Linked DNA regions of Homo sapiens: region 1 is linked to region 2. Evidence: promoter capture Hi-C in human tissues and cell types (Jung and others, 2019). All regions are on one chromosome and are shown on one strand. The core of a region is centred on a gene start or on the middle of the fragment in contact, and the rest is flanking DNA. Distances in the headings are between cores, read along the strand shown.

Region 1 (7,021 bases), core at 1,355-3,854, 330 kb before region 2:
CCGTGTTAGCCAGGATGGTCTTGATCTCCTGACCTCGTGATCTGCCCACCTTGGCCTCCCAAAGTGCTGGTATTACAGGCGTGAGTCACCGTGCCCAGCCTATTTATTATTATTTTTTGAGACAGAGTCTCGCTGTGTTGCCCAGGCTGGAGTGCAGTGGTGTGATTTCAGCTCACTGCAACCTCTGCCTCCTGGGTTCAAGGTATTCTCCCACCTCAGCCTCCCAAGTAGATGGGACTACAAGTGTCTGCCACCACGCCTGGGTAATTTTTGTATTTTTAGTAGAGACAGGGTTTCACCATATTGGCCAGGCTTGTCTCGATCTCCTGACCTTGTGATCCACCTGCCTCAGCCTCCCAAAGTGCTGGGATTACAGGTGTGAGCCATTTTATTTTACTTATTTATTATTATTATTTTTTTAGAGATGAGGGTCTCACCATGTTGCCTAGACTGGTCTCAAAATCCTGGGATCTGGTGGTCCTCCTGTCTCGGCCTCCCAATATGTTGGAATTACAGCTGTGCCTGGCCACTTTCTGTTTTTATAAGTAGATGCATTATCTAGCAACTGTTTCTCTTGAAATAAAAACAAAATGAGGTAAACTTAATACTGGCTTTGTGATAAATCCAAACCATAGAAGGTTTTGAGTTAGCCTCAGGACCTTCCCCTATTTGCCACAGTAAATCCTGGTTAACATTGTCTTAGATGGACATTCATACATTTTCTATGCATATTTTTGTGTATATACACACAAGTTTTATATATTGGTGTGTGTGTATATACATATAAATATATGGTTGTTCCTTACCCAAAATCAAATGGGATTACATTAAATATGTTGTATTGTAGCTTGTAGGATGATGCATCTATGAAGATGCTTGAACATAGTTTTTTTTTTGTAATAGATCTTGCTATTTTTTTTTTTTTTTTTTGAGACGTACTCTCAGTCTGTTGCCCAGGCTGGAGTGCAGTGGCGTGATTTTGGCTCACTGTACTCTCCACCTTCTGGGTTCAAGCGATTCTCCTGCCTCAGCCTTCCAGGTAGCTGAGATTACAGGCAGGCACCACCACGCCTGGCTAATTTTTGTATTTTTAGTAGAGACTCGGTTTCACCATATTGGCCAGGCTGGTCTTGAACTCCTGACCTCAGGTGATCGACCCGTCTTGGTCTCCCAAAGTGCTGGGATTACAGGCATGAGCCACTATGCCTAGCCAGGTGTTGCTATGTTGACCAGGCTGGTCATGAACTCCTGATCTGAAGTGATCCTCCCATCTTGCACTCCCAAAGTGTTAGGATTACAGATGTGAGCCATCACGCCCAGTCCAGAACATAGATCTTTGAATAATTCTTCAAGTTTATTAACAGTGGACTTACTGGGTTAATAGGTGTAATTTCAATTTTAAAATTTTAAGAATTTTTGAATAGTTTTGTGTTCTTTTCTGTTTTCACAATGTTTAGTAATTCAGGTCATAATTTTCCTCACTATATCAAATAATTAATTGTGTACAGCTCCTCTTCACTGAAGCTTCCTGACCTTGTTTTAGTAATTTGGTTTGAACTGTTTAATCTCTCGAAGAGAATGGAAATTAGTAAGAAGCTGAAATCTTCTTCCTCGCATACTCTAGTTGTAGTCAGCAATTAACCTCCCCCAATTCTTTTCCTCCCTCTACTGGTGAAGCCCCATAGCTCTGATGCCTGTCACCCACCCTGATTAAGAACTTTATAAACAGCACATGAATAAAAATGTTTGGACTTGAACGTGACAAGTTTTGCATTTCACAAAAAGTGAATTTGACCTTCATTTTCACTTGTTAAATAAGGCTTAAATTCCACTTCAACAAACAAGCCTTGGTTTAATAAATGTGCATAGAATCTTAATACAGAGGTATTCATTTATCTCCCTTGTTCTCCCTTTTTCATCCAGCTCTGTTATTTTAACCCCTTTGTCCTTGAGTCTGTTTTTCTTTTTGTTTTGGTGCTTGTTTACTCTATTCCCAATAATGTGGGGCATGACGTTCATTTACAGTATCATAGCTCTGTTCCCTTCAGAGCTTTGTATCATGCTTTGTCTGCATTTCAGTGTTTCTTGTTTAATTTTGAAGGCCTATGAAAATACGCCAGATCTTGTTGGAGAGAACAGGAACTTTTCCCAGGAATTTTTTCATAGAGGTGGTTTCTTTTTTAATCCCTGCCTCTTATCCTTGTTTTATACCCCATACTTTCTGCCTACTAGAAGAGCCATGAGGGAAACAAGTGACCCCTTTATCTACCAACAGACACCTCCAGTGCGGCAAGTTCCATTTATTGCTGGTTGTGATGGTTTCGAGCCAGCCTGGGACATTGGCACACACTGAATTTGTGTGCTGAAACCACTTTACAGTTCACAGTTGACCTATTTTTTTTAAAGCAAGTCTGCTTAATTTATCTGTGATGAAACACAAATTGGAATTGATTGTGTAAATTCCCTCTTCTCTTAAATCTGAATTCCTTAGTCCACAGCTTGACTTTGAGTGATTGACCTCCAATCCCTCCTTTGATTTTCTTTTTTTTTTCTTTTTGAGACAAGGTCTCTCGCTGTCTGTCACTCAGGCTGGAGTACAGTGGCACCATCATGGCTCACTGCAGCCTTGACTTCCCGGGCTCAGAGGATTCTCCTATCTCAGCCTCCCAAGTGGCCGGGGCTACAGGCACGCATCACGATGCCTGGCTAATTTTTTTTTTTTTTTTTTTTGAGACGGAGTCTCGCTCTATCACCCTGGCTGGAGTGCAGTGGCGCTATCTCGGCTCACTGCCAGCTCCGCCTCCCGGGTTCATGCCATTTTCCTGCCTCAGCCTCCCGAGTAGCTGGGACTACACGTGCCCACCACCACGCCTGGCTAATTTTTTGTATTTTTAGTAGAGACGGGGTTTCACCATGTTAGCCAGGATGGTGTTGATCTCCTGACCTCGTGATCCGCCCGCCTTGGCCTCCCAAAGTGCTGGGATTACAGGCATGAGCCACCGCACCCGGCCTCACCTGGCTAATTTTTTTGTATTTTTGGTAGAGACAAGATTTCACCATGTTACCCAGGCTGGTCTCAAACTCCTGGGATCAGGTGATCCGCCTGCCTAAGCCTCCCAGAGTGCTGGGATTACAGGCATGAGCCACCACACCTGGCCCCTTCCCGTGATCTTTATGACTGTCTTCCTTTAAAAGGATATTGTAGTTTTAAGACAGTTCATTTTAAGTTCATGTTTTTCGTGGCACTTAGCCAACACTTTCACTGATTTCTTAAAATTCTTGAAATGTTCACCTTTACACACATTTAAAGTAATGTGTATTCATTGCGAACATTGAGTAATGTAGATAATTATAATGAAGAAAATTTAAATCACCTTCAGTCCCACTCAGATACATTAAAAAAATTACATATTTATATTCAGTCTTTTTCTTTTTTTTCTTTTCTTTTCTTTTTTTTTTTTTTTTTTTTTTTTTGTGATGGAGTTTCGCTCTTGTTGCCCAGGCTGGAGTGCAATGGTGCTATGATCTTGGCTCACCGCAACCTCCGCCTCCTGGGTTCAAGTGATTCTCCTGCCTCAGCCTCCCGAGTAGCTGGGATTACAGGCATGCACCACCACACCTGGCTAATTTTGTATTTTTAGTAGAGACAGGGTTTCTCCATGTTGGTCATGCTGGTCTCGAACTCCTGACCTCAGGTGATCCGCCTGCCTCAGCCTCCCAAAGTGCTGGGATTACAGGCGTGAGCCACCGCACCCAGCTGTATTCAGTCTTTCTCTGTGCATGTGTTGTGTGTATGATCATTATCATCCTTTTTTTCACTTAACATGAAATTATGGCTGAACATTTTCCCATGTCATGAAATATTATTTGAAAGCATCGTTATCAATGGTTACATAATATTTCAGTCTGTGGCTATTTCATAGTTTGTTAGAACATTTCCTTGATACTGGATATTTAAGTTTCTGGCATTCTTACTTTTGTGACACTGTGAATACCATCTTTGTTTATGAAGTTTTTTGTTTGTTCATTTGTTTTTTGTTTTTGAGATGGAATCTAGCTCTGTCACCCAGGCTGGAGTGCAGTGGCACAATCTCCGCTCACTGCAACCTCCGCCTCCCAGGTTCAAGCGATTCTTATGCCTCAGCCTTGCTAGCAGCTGGGATTGCAGGTGTGCGCCACCCTCCTGGCGAATTTTTGTATTTTTAGTAGAGATGGGGTTTCATTATGTTGGCCAGGCTGGTTTGGAACCCTTGACCTCAGGTGATCTGCCCACCTCAGCCTCACAAAGTGCTGGGATTACAGGCATGAGCTACCACACCCAGCCTCAATGTGGCTGTTAATGTACAGATTCACTCATATACAAATTGAATGGTTTTAATACTAAAATAATATTTAATTCCCCAAGCTTTTTTTTTTTCCTGTTGGTTTTTGTTTCTCTAAGTGTAATGGCACAAGAGAGAACAGATTGTGGACTTTCTATTTAAGAGGTTTATGGCTTTATGAGGAGAAGGTGCATAGTGGAGCATGAGCAGTTCTGTAACAGGAGGACAAGGTGCACACAGAAGGAAGAAAGACATCTGCTTGAAAGCTTCCCAGGCCGGTCCTGGAAGATTGGAATCCAGAGCACCATGTATTTGGTATTACACACTATGTACTCCATAATTAGTTGTTTTTTTGTTTTGTTTTGTTTTGTTTTGTTTTTTGAGATGGAGTCTTGCTCTGTTGCCCAGGCTAGAGTGCAGTGGTGCTATCTCGGCTCACTGCAAGCTCCACCTCCTGGGTTCACGCCATTCTCCTGCCTCAGCCTCCTGAGTAGCTGGGACTACAGCTGTCTGCCACCATGCCCGGCTAATTTTTCACATTTTTAGTAGAGATGGGGTTTCACCGTGTTAGCCAGGATGGTCTCGATCTCCTGACCTTGTGATCCACCCGCCTCAGCCTCCCAAAGTGCTAGGATTACAGGCATGAGCCACCGCACCCGGCCTATGTACTCCATAATTTGACCATTGATATTTTCTAAACAAAAATGTTCCATTTCCTCCCTCCCTCTTTTATAAGGAAAGGACCTAAAATTAGGGGTATAGGGACATACTGTAAATTCTCAAGACTAGGGATTACGTCTTAATGATATTTGTGTCTACAGTGCATGGCACAGTGTGTGGTATATAGCTGGTGCTAAGAAGTCTTTATTATTATTATTGTTAGTTTTTTTTTTTTTGAGACAGAGTTTTGCTCTGTTGCCCAGGCTTCAGTACAGTGGCGTGATCTCGGCTCACTGCAACCTCCGCCTCCCAGGTTCAGACAGTTCTTCTGTCTCAGCCTCCCAAGTAGCTGGGATTACAGGCACAGGCCACCATGCCTGGAAAATTTTTTGTATTTTTAGTAGAGATGGGGTTTCACCATGTTGGCCAGGCTGGTCTCAAACTCCCGATCTGAGGTGATCTGCCCACCTTGGCCTCCCAAAGTGCTGGGATTACAGGTGTGAGCCACCGCACTTGGCTGCAAGCAGACCTTTCTAAGGAGAGAAGTCCCAGGCCTGCTGTGTGAGCTCTTCTGCACAATGAAGACACTGATCTTCTTGTAGAGAAATTTCTGGGCTTTCCAGTTTAATTCATTTAAGAGAAGGGGTAAATTTTGGTGGTGTTTTAGCAAGCAACAGCTATCCCTTGACTAGTATGAACAGGGCCTGGTAGGTCAGTATGAGGGTCTGCTTGAGGGCAGAAGATGTTTAGGCTGTTGAATTTTCCCACAAAGTTTCAAGTTTGGAGGCTCCTCAAGAAACTTGTCAAAATTACTTAATGAGGTTTTAAACTGTACAAATTAGTGGTCAGGGCCAGGGCCTGTATTTTGGTCCATTTCTTTTGCAGAAGCTTCTTGGAGATGCACCAAAGAATCTTTATTGCCTGGTTTTAGGATTTAATGGAATTTAATTAGGTTTCCAGTTGTAGAGAGGCTCTGGGACTTAGTTAAGCTATAGTTGTCAAGCAAGTTATGGCTTCCGGTTTTTTGTCAGAAGGGATATGGTACCGTGCTCTGTCCTGAAGCCTCAGCGGGGCTCACTCCTGCCTTACATTAGCCAGTTTCTCCCAGAAGGCAAGTGAGAACAATAAAGCTAGCAGAATAGTTCTGAAACCCTGCCTTGCTGGGAGCTAGATTAGTTCCTCTTTTATTCAGGGAAAACTTGGATAAAAGGGATTCTAATAGCATAGTTTGAAGATCTTCGGTTTGGGGATCTAGAGCGGTGCTGGGGGATGTTAACTGGTGTTCTCTGGTTGTATCTCACACCCCTCTCATATACCCCACCTCCATTTGGAGACTCATCTCATATGCAGGGAAAGGCATTGAGGAATTCTGCAAACACATTTTGCCGTATTTAACTCTGTATTTCCTAAATTTATTTGCTTATGGAACCCTCTTTTGTGGAATACCCATTAGGGTTCAGGGATCCTCGTGTTTTGTAGTACTCAGTTTGGAAAATGCTAGTCTGGAGATTCAGCATCCTCAGGTTGTTTTTCCTGGAAGTGGTAATGGAGAGCAGCCCTTCCTGGTGCAGTAGGCCACCTTTCTTTTGCTCATAACACAGACCAGTTGTGACACTTGGCTCTGTCTCAGGCTGTGACTTTTAATATACCGATTTACTTATACACAAATTGAATGGTTAATGTTCCATTCCCCAAGCCTTTTTTGTTCATTTTTACTATTTTTTTTGTTTGTTTGTTTCTCTCTTTTTTTTTTGAGACTGAGTTTTGCTCTTGTTGCCCAGGCTGGAGTGCAGTGGCGTGATCTCGGCTCACCGCAACCTCCTCCTCTTGGGTTCAAGCGATTCGCCTGCCTCAGCCTTCCTGAGTAGCTGGGATTAGAGGCATGCACCACCACACCCGGCTAATTTTGTATTTTTAGTAGAGATGGGGTTTTTCCATGTTGGTCAGGCTGGTCTTGAACTCCCGACCTCAGATGATCTGCCCACCTCGGCCTTCCAAAGTGCTGGGATTATAGGCGTGAGCCACCATACCTAGTCTTT
Region 2 (6,479 bases), core at 891-3,390:
GGTAAAAAAAATAAAATCACTGATTCTAATACATAAACTATGCAATAAAAATATCAAGGATTAGCAATGGTCAAGCTACTCAAAATACAATTAACTTTAAAAATGCAGATTAAAATGTATTTTAATAAAATGACGAATATGCATTGAAAAATGACCACAAAGACATAAACCAAAAATGCTGACAGTGATTATATCTGGGTCAAACAATTCCCAGTGATTTTTACTTTAGCTGTATAGTACATTTTCTACAATGACTATATGTTTTTTGGAAAAAAAAAAGAGTAGATAAATTTTTTTTTTTTAACTTTTGTGGCTTCCACTTAGGAATACATAATCCCAAACATCACAGTAAACAACCCTCAAAAACATTAATACTCTAAATATGCTCAAATGGTTTATTTGCCTTGAACATTCCACGTGGATATAAGAAAAAAATATTCTTTTACACCCTGCTAATCTCTGGCAGGAAACCAAGGCTACAGGGAAGCATCTTCTGAGTAAGAATAGCCTTTGAAAGAAACAAACCATCAGAAACACAGTGTGTGTTAAGGATGGGGCAGACAGTACAGGGTCTCTCACTGAGAGAACCATACAGTTTTTTGAAATTTTAAGAAGCTTGTTGGCAAATATTTTTAGACAATCTCCAATCCCTAGAGGCTAACCTTGGACATCATCCTTAGGTTCTTAGATGGACACGCCACACCCAAAGTGGTTGTAATGGGCTACAAAGTGGTTGTAATGAATCCATGAGAAAGCCTGCCTGCAGGCAAGCCCCAGACTTAGATGAATGTAACCTTGCTGGTGGGCGATCATTATTTGAGGAGACAGCTGGAACACGCTAACTCTAGCCTCTTCCCCCTACTAGGTGCCTAACCTGAATCTTTTTTTTTTTTTTTAATCTGTAAAATTAGACTCAAATATTACAGGGTTATCATTAACATCATCGAAGCATTAAACAAATATGAGGTATGATCAGTGAAAACAAGCAGTGGATGGGGAGCTGAGACACTGAGTCTAGTCTCAGGACTAAGATTAGCTGGTGACCTTGGGTGAAATCACTTAACCTGAGCCTCAGTTTCCTCAGGTGTAAAATCAGGATACACCCGTTCAGCAAGGATGCTGTGAGAGCATCCACCTACAACAGTGATGCTCGCAGGCCCGGGGCTGGCACCGTCGCTCTGTGGGCCTCGGCCTCTGGGTCCCCACAAGGCAGGGCTGGGACACCCGCCCGACCTCCTCCCGAACCAGAACCCCGGCTGCCCCCAGCTCCGCGGGTCTGCCCCCGACACATCCCTCCCGAAGGCCACTTGGCTTGGACACAAATCGAAACCGAAAAGCTCATGTGACACTGGAGGCAGGGATGCGGCCTCGCCCGCTCTCAGCCCAGGGAGACGCTGTCTCCACCCAACTCGGCCATCTTGAGAGGCCCGAGCAGACAAAGCGACCCCATTGTTTTGGGTGACGGCAGACGGGGACCCCTTTCCCCTCCCCGCGACCAGGAGCGGGGCGCCCTGGGGGCTCCGGGCCGGGCAGTGGGTGTGGCGAGGGCGAGCCCCGGGCGCCGCGCCGGCCTCTGCGGGGCGTCTGCGGCCCTGGGGACCCGGCCGGCGGGACGTCTGCGGCCGCCGGGCTCTGCCCATCCAGGGGTCATCTGCAGCTGCCGGGCTCCTCCCATCCCGGGGACATCTGCGACCCCGGAGGACCTGGCAGGCCCTGCATTCCGCGAGGCCTGGCTCTGGCGACCCTGCCCTCCGCGGCCCCGCACCTTTGAGCGTGGAGCGCTCCACCAGCACCGTGTGGACCTGCGGGTCCGAAAGGAACTTGCGCATCTGCTCCAGGGCGCTCTTCTCCTCCAGCGCCGCCTCCAGCGCGGCCGGCGCCTCGCCGCCGTCCTCCAGCAGCAGCGGCACCAGCTTGCGCAGGTGCTTCTGCAGCACCGACACGTCCGCCACATTCTGCACGGCCGACACTTCCAATCCGGCCGAGCCGTCCTCGCCGCCGCCGCCCCCGGGCTCCGACATGGTGTCGCGCTCGGGACCTTCCAGGAGCGATGAGAAGGCGGCCGCGACTCAGCGAGACAGCCAGCAAGAGACAGAAACGGCCGCCGGAAGCCGGACCGTCCGCTAGCCCACCGCAGACTGAGGAGAGCGGGAGCCGGCTCCGCCCTAAAGGCAGCCACTGCCAGGTGGCCCCGCCCCGCCCCGCCGGCCGCAGCCGCCGCAGCCACCCGCGCTCGCTCGCGGCCTTAGCGTCACGGCGCCGCGCGTGCGCGGGGGGCGGGCCCGGCGATGTCGCCGCGCGCCCTTCTGGGACTTGTAGTCTCGGCGCTGGTCGGGGCCCGCAGCCTCCGCACTGCGAGTCCTAGGAGATGGGGACTTGGCTCAACGTCCTGGCTCGGCGCCCGGGCTTGGCGAGGTTGGTCAGGGGCTGCGTCTGTCTTCTTCACTGCTGTGGACGCAGCGAATAGCACACAGCCAGAGAAACTTTATAGTGAATCAGTGATGTTATTGGCGAGAGCTAACGTTTAGTGAGCGCTTAGCCTGTGCCCGGCGTTGTTCTAAGCCCCTTAACCTCTCATTAAATGTTCTCTCATTGAATGAATGAATGACTACGTATCAGGTACCAAAATATAGGCACGACAGATGTGTTATTAGATATAGACCGGGAGATTGAGGATACTTTTCAGAGGGGGAGGAGATGAGGGGCGTGCTCAGAGAGTCCCATTGCCAGGCTGGAAACGGACAGCTGGGGAGGGGGCCTTCGGGGCAGTGTAAGGTTAAGCCAGGAATGACACCTTCACTGTACGTAAAGCCAAGCTGTGATGGGATCTGGTTCCTAATGACAAAAATCATTGTCCCCGAGGACGCTGTGAGGACCAAGAGGGAGACCTACTGAGAACAGCTACCTCCAGCAATGGCTCTCCTCCAGCCCCCTAGAGCTGGCACTGTCATTCTGTGGGCCTCAGTATCTGGGTCCGTACAAGGCAGGGGCTGGGTTGCCTGCCCACCAAGTTTCCCCCTAGTTCGGACCCACCACGACCTCCTCCCCTACACCATGACTACATAAGAGCCAGAATCCAGGCTGCCCAGCTGGGTGCGGTGGCTCACACCTGTAATCCTAGCATTTTGAGAGGCTGAGATGGGAGGATTGCTTGAGGCCAGAAGTTCCAAGACCAGCCTGGTCAACCTAGCGAGACCCTATATCTATGTGTATTTAAAAATTAAGAATTTTGTAAAATAATAAAAATAATAGAATCCAGGCTGCCCATCTTTGTAGTTTAGAGATGGTAGGTTCTTCTAAGGGGTAGTAATTGGCCTTTGAAAGTTCACATTCATAACTTCTTTCTTAAGTTGGGTGGAGAGAGGGAAGCCAATGGCGTTTTTTTTTTTTTTGGTTTTTTTGTTTTTTTTAAACATCAAAGTGCACTGTCAGAGTGCCGAGTCCTGATTGGTGGAATGATGATGGTATGATTTGATTCTCCCAAATCATCTTTGAAAAACTGTGAAACATACAATAAGCTTATTCCTTGCCTAATTACCGGTTGCTGGGTCCCAGGGGGTTGCTGGAACACGGAGACTAATCAGATGATTCTTGTCTTTAAGGAGCATGTGGAAGAGGGGACAGATGAATACCCCATCTTCCTGCTCTCCATCAGTCCGCCCTGGTGTGATGTGCCTAAGCAGTTCCGAGTAATCTTCCTGGAAAAAATAAATAGGCAACTGCGATGAGTTTGTGCAAGGATCCTAATGGTAATGAATAATAATAACACACCACTGACAGCGAACGCTGAGTGTTCACTGCGTGCTAGGCACCATGCAGAGGGTTTCCCCTCACATGTACTTTAGGGGTAGAAAGAGGGACAAAGAGGAAAGTCTATTAGGTGCAGATCTGTGAACTCTGAATAGGCCATCCACCATCTGAGACTCAGAAACCTGCAGGGACCTGGCCGATGGGCAGGCTGCATGCTGGCTGCACCATGAGTCAGCACCAGACTGGGAGACGCAGCCACTCAGGGATCCAAGGGACTCAAACATCTGCAACCTGGCCCCAGGCCAAGAGAACAAACTGCAGGCTCCGGATTTGCGGCCCTGTAGGATAGGCTCAAAATGAAACATGTTTGTTATTTCTAAGTGGATGGGAACTGAAAGAACCCGAACAATCAGTGTACAAGGATTCATGAATGGACCAAACATGCTTGCTTTTTGTTCTTGAAAGATGTTTGTTGTATTTAATATATAACGAGAAGAGTGGTCAACGCTGACTGGGTGCTGAGCACTTTAAGTGCATTACCTGGGTGGCTGGCTGGGCTGTGCCAGGGTTGAAGGGTGTGGGGAGCTTCTTTCAAGGTGCCCCTTCTGCCTCCTGGCACAGGACTCTGGCTCCAGCACACCCCAAGCTGACCCTGGTGGGGGTAGGGCCCCTCACCCAAACCTGGCCTCTCCCGTCTCTTGTTCTGCTGCCTCAGCTTTCTCCTGTCTGTGGTAGAGTCTGCTTGGACAGACTCTGGGCAGGGCAGGGGGCAGGGCAAGCTGGAGAGAGAATTCGTTCTAGGTTGATGTGGGATGATAGTGGCTGGTAGGGCGCTTGTATCCTATTGGAAATCCATGATGAGATCCCATTCATTCCCACCCTTCTCTTAACAATGTCTCCTTAAGTCCAAGTCTCAAGTCGGGTGCCCAGTTTCATACCATCCTTCCTCTCCCTCTCACAACCTTCGGGCAGGACCAACCCCCTCAGAGGAACCCCTGCTGCCCCAGCCCTTTCAGGCTCTGTGCCCAGGATCTCCCCTCCACTCCCTGGAAATTCCACATTTGGCCAGGTGTGGTGGTGCACACCCTTGTTCCCAGCTACTCAAAAGGTTGAGGTGGAGGTCGAGGCTGCAGTGAGCTGTGATCTCACTACTGCACTCCAGCCTGTGCAAGAGAGTGAGACCCCGTCTCTAAATAATAATAATAATAATAATAATAATAATAATAATAAATTTAAAGAAAAAGAATTTCCATCTTGGGCTCATTCGTTCATTCATTCATCCCCACTTGTGAGAGCAGGGAGGTCTAAGCTTCTCGGGATTCTCAGCACCAGCGGGGCCTGGACCAAAGCGTGCACTTGGTTGGTGGGTGTGAAACTAATGCCTTACCCCGAGGAAGGGGCGCTGGCGGTGGCCGTGGGGACACGGGGTGCACTGTGGATCAAGACCTTCCTGGCCACATCTCTGGGGCTGTCAGGGTGCTGCTGGAGGGCAAGGCTGGGACTTCACAGGTTCGCAGGGCTGCAGGACGCTTTCTGAGGAAGCTCATTCCAGGATCCACCCCCTTTCTGTCTTGATTCCTTGTCAAATGAGCCTCAGGGTGAGGCTTGAACCAGATCTGGTTCCTGGAGGCTTCGACCCCAGCAGGTTGGAGTTTGAAGCGCGTGGTGAGAACGGAACGGTCTCTTGGCGCCGTCTAGTGGCAGCAAAGGATGTGTCGCATGGAATTTTCTTCTGCTTGTAGGGGACCCACCTCCCCAGCCTGCTGCCCATCCATCCTGGTGACAGCAGGCTCACCTGCCCAAGGTCACCTGGCTTGCTTGTCCAGGGTCACAGAACAAGTAATGACAATGAAAATGCCAGCATGCACCCCACTGCCCATGGGGAAGATGTTAGTGAATCTTGTCTCTACCTGGGCAGACAATTCCCACCTGGCTCTCCTGACCCCTGGATTAACCCAGGCTGCCTGCAGACCCTCAAAACCTCTGACACCGCCCTGGCCCTTCCCTCTGGTAGTGTGTGGCCCCTTCTCTTACCAAAGGCTGTCGGTGTCCCCAGCCAGGACCACTACTCCCTGGGTGTGCTGCCTCCATCTCCTCTCAGGGTTATCACCTCTGAAATTCTCCCCTCGCTCCCAGATGTTCTCTCTCTCTCCTAGATTTTTTCCACCGATGTCTGAGCTATTCTATCCCTTCTTTAAAGGAAAAGAAGGAAGCCCTACCGTAGCCCACTGCCAGCACCTCTCCACTGCTTTGCTGCCCTTTCCAGCAAAACTCCTTGAGAATAAGCATATGTGGGCACTGCCTTTCCCACCCCATCCCCACATTCATGGGCAGGCACTCTTGGCAAGGTCACCAGTGACTTCCGCGTGGCCAAATCCAGTGACTAGTTCTCAGTCCTCATCTTGCTTGACCCGTGGACACACTGATGCAGCCGGCACTCCCTCCTTCTCTGAACACCACCTTCACCTGGCTTTTGGTGGCCGCACTCTCCAGATCCTCCTCGTCACCAAGGTTCCTTCTCAGTCTCCTCTGCTGGATCCTGCTCTTCGCGACCTCTGAAGGTTGGAGGGGCCCAAGGCTTGGCCCTCAGGCTGGTTTGTGTTCTATCAGCACGCCCTCTCCAGCGCCCTCTAGCCTTGGATTTTCTTTTTTCTTTCTTTCTTTTCTTTCTTTTTTTTTTTTTTGAGATGGAGTTTCGCTCTTGTTGCCCAGGCTGGAGTGCAATGGCT

What was found. The method cuts DNA at HindIII sites, captures the fragments that hold promoters and counts their contacts. A contact is called where the count stands out against the background at its distance.
Region 1: a fragment that was not itself captured here is called in contact with the fragment with the promoter of DYNC1H1 in region 2 in 1 of the 25 tissues and cell types used here (dorsolateral prefrontal cortex).

What each region holds. Positions count from the first base shown.
Region 1 is chr14:102,290,155-102,297,175 of GRCh38, reverse strand. All of the region lies in intron 1 of MOK (MOK protein kinase), which reads left to right. Among named protein-coding and RNA genes, the nearest start is that of MOK, 11 kb to the left of the region's middle. The HindIII fragment of the contact is 5,250 bases long and covers 1-5,229 here.
Region 2 is chr14:101,960,234-101,966,712 of GRCh38, reverse strand. It overlaps DYNC1H1 (dynein cytoplasmic 1 heavy chain 1), which reads right to left and starts at 2,140. Exons shown (of 78, transcript NM_001376.5): 1 at 1,766-2,140. The coding sequence starts at 2,021. RefSeq lists silencers at 1,448-1,657, 2,148-2,307, 5,252-5,428 and enhancers at 1,183-1,792, 1,793-2,403, 2,448-2,587, 5,270-5,329. The HindIII fragment of the contact is 2,222 bases long and covers 2,068-4,289 here.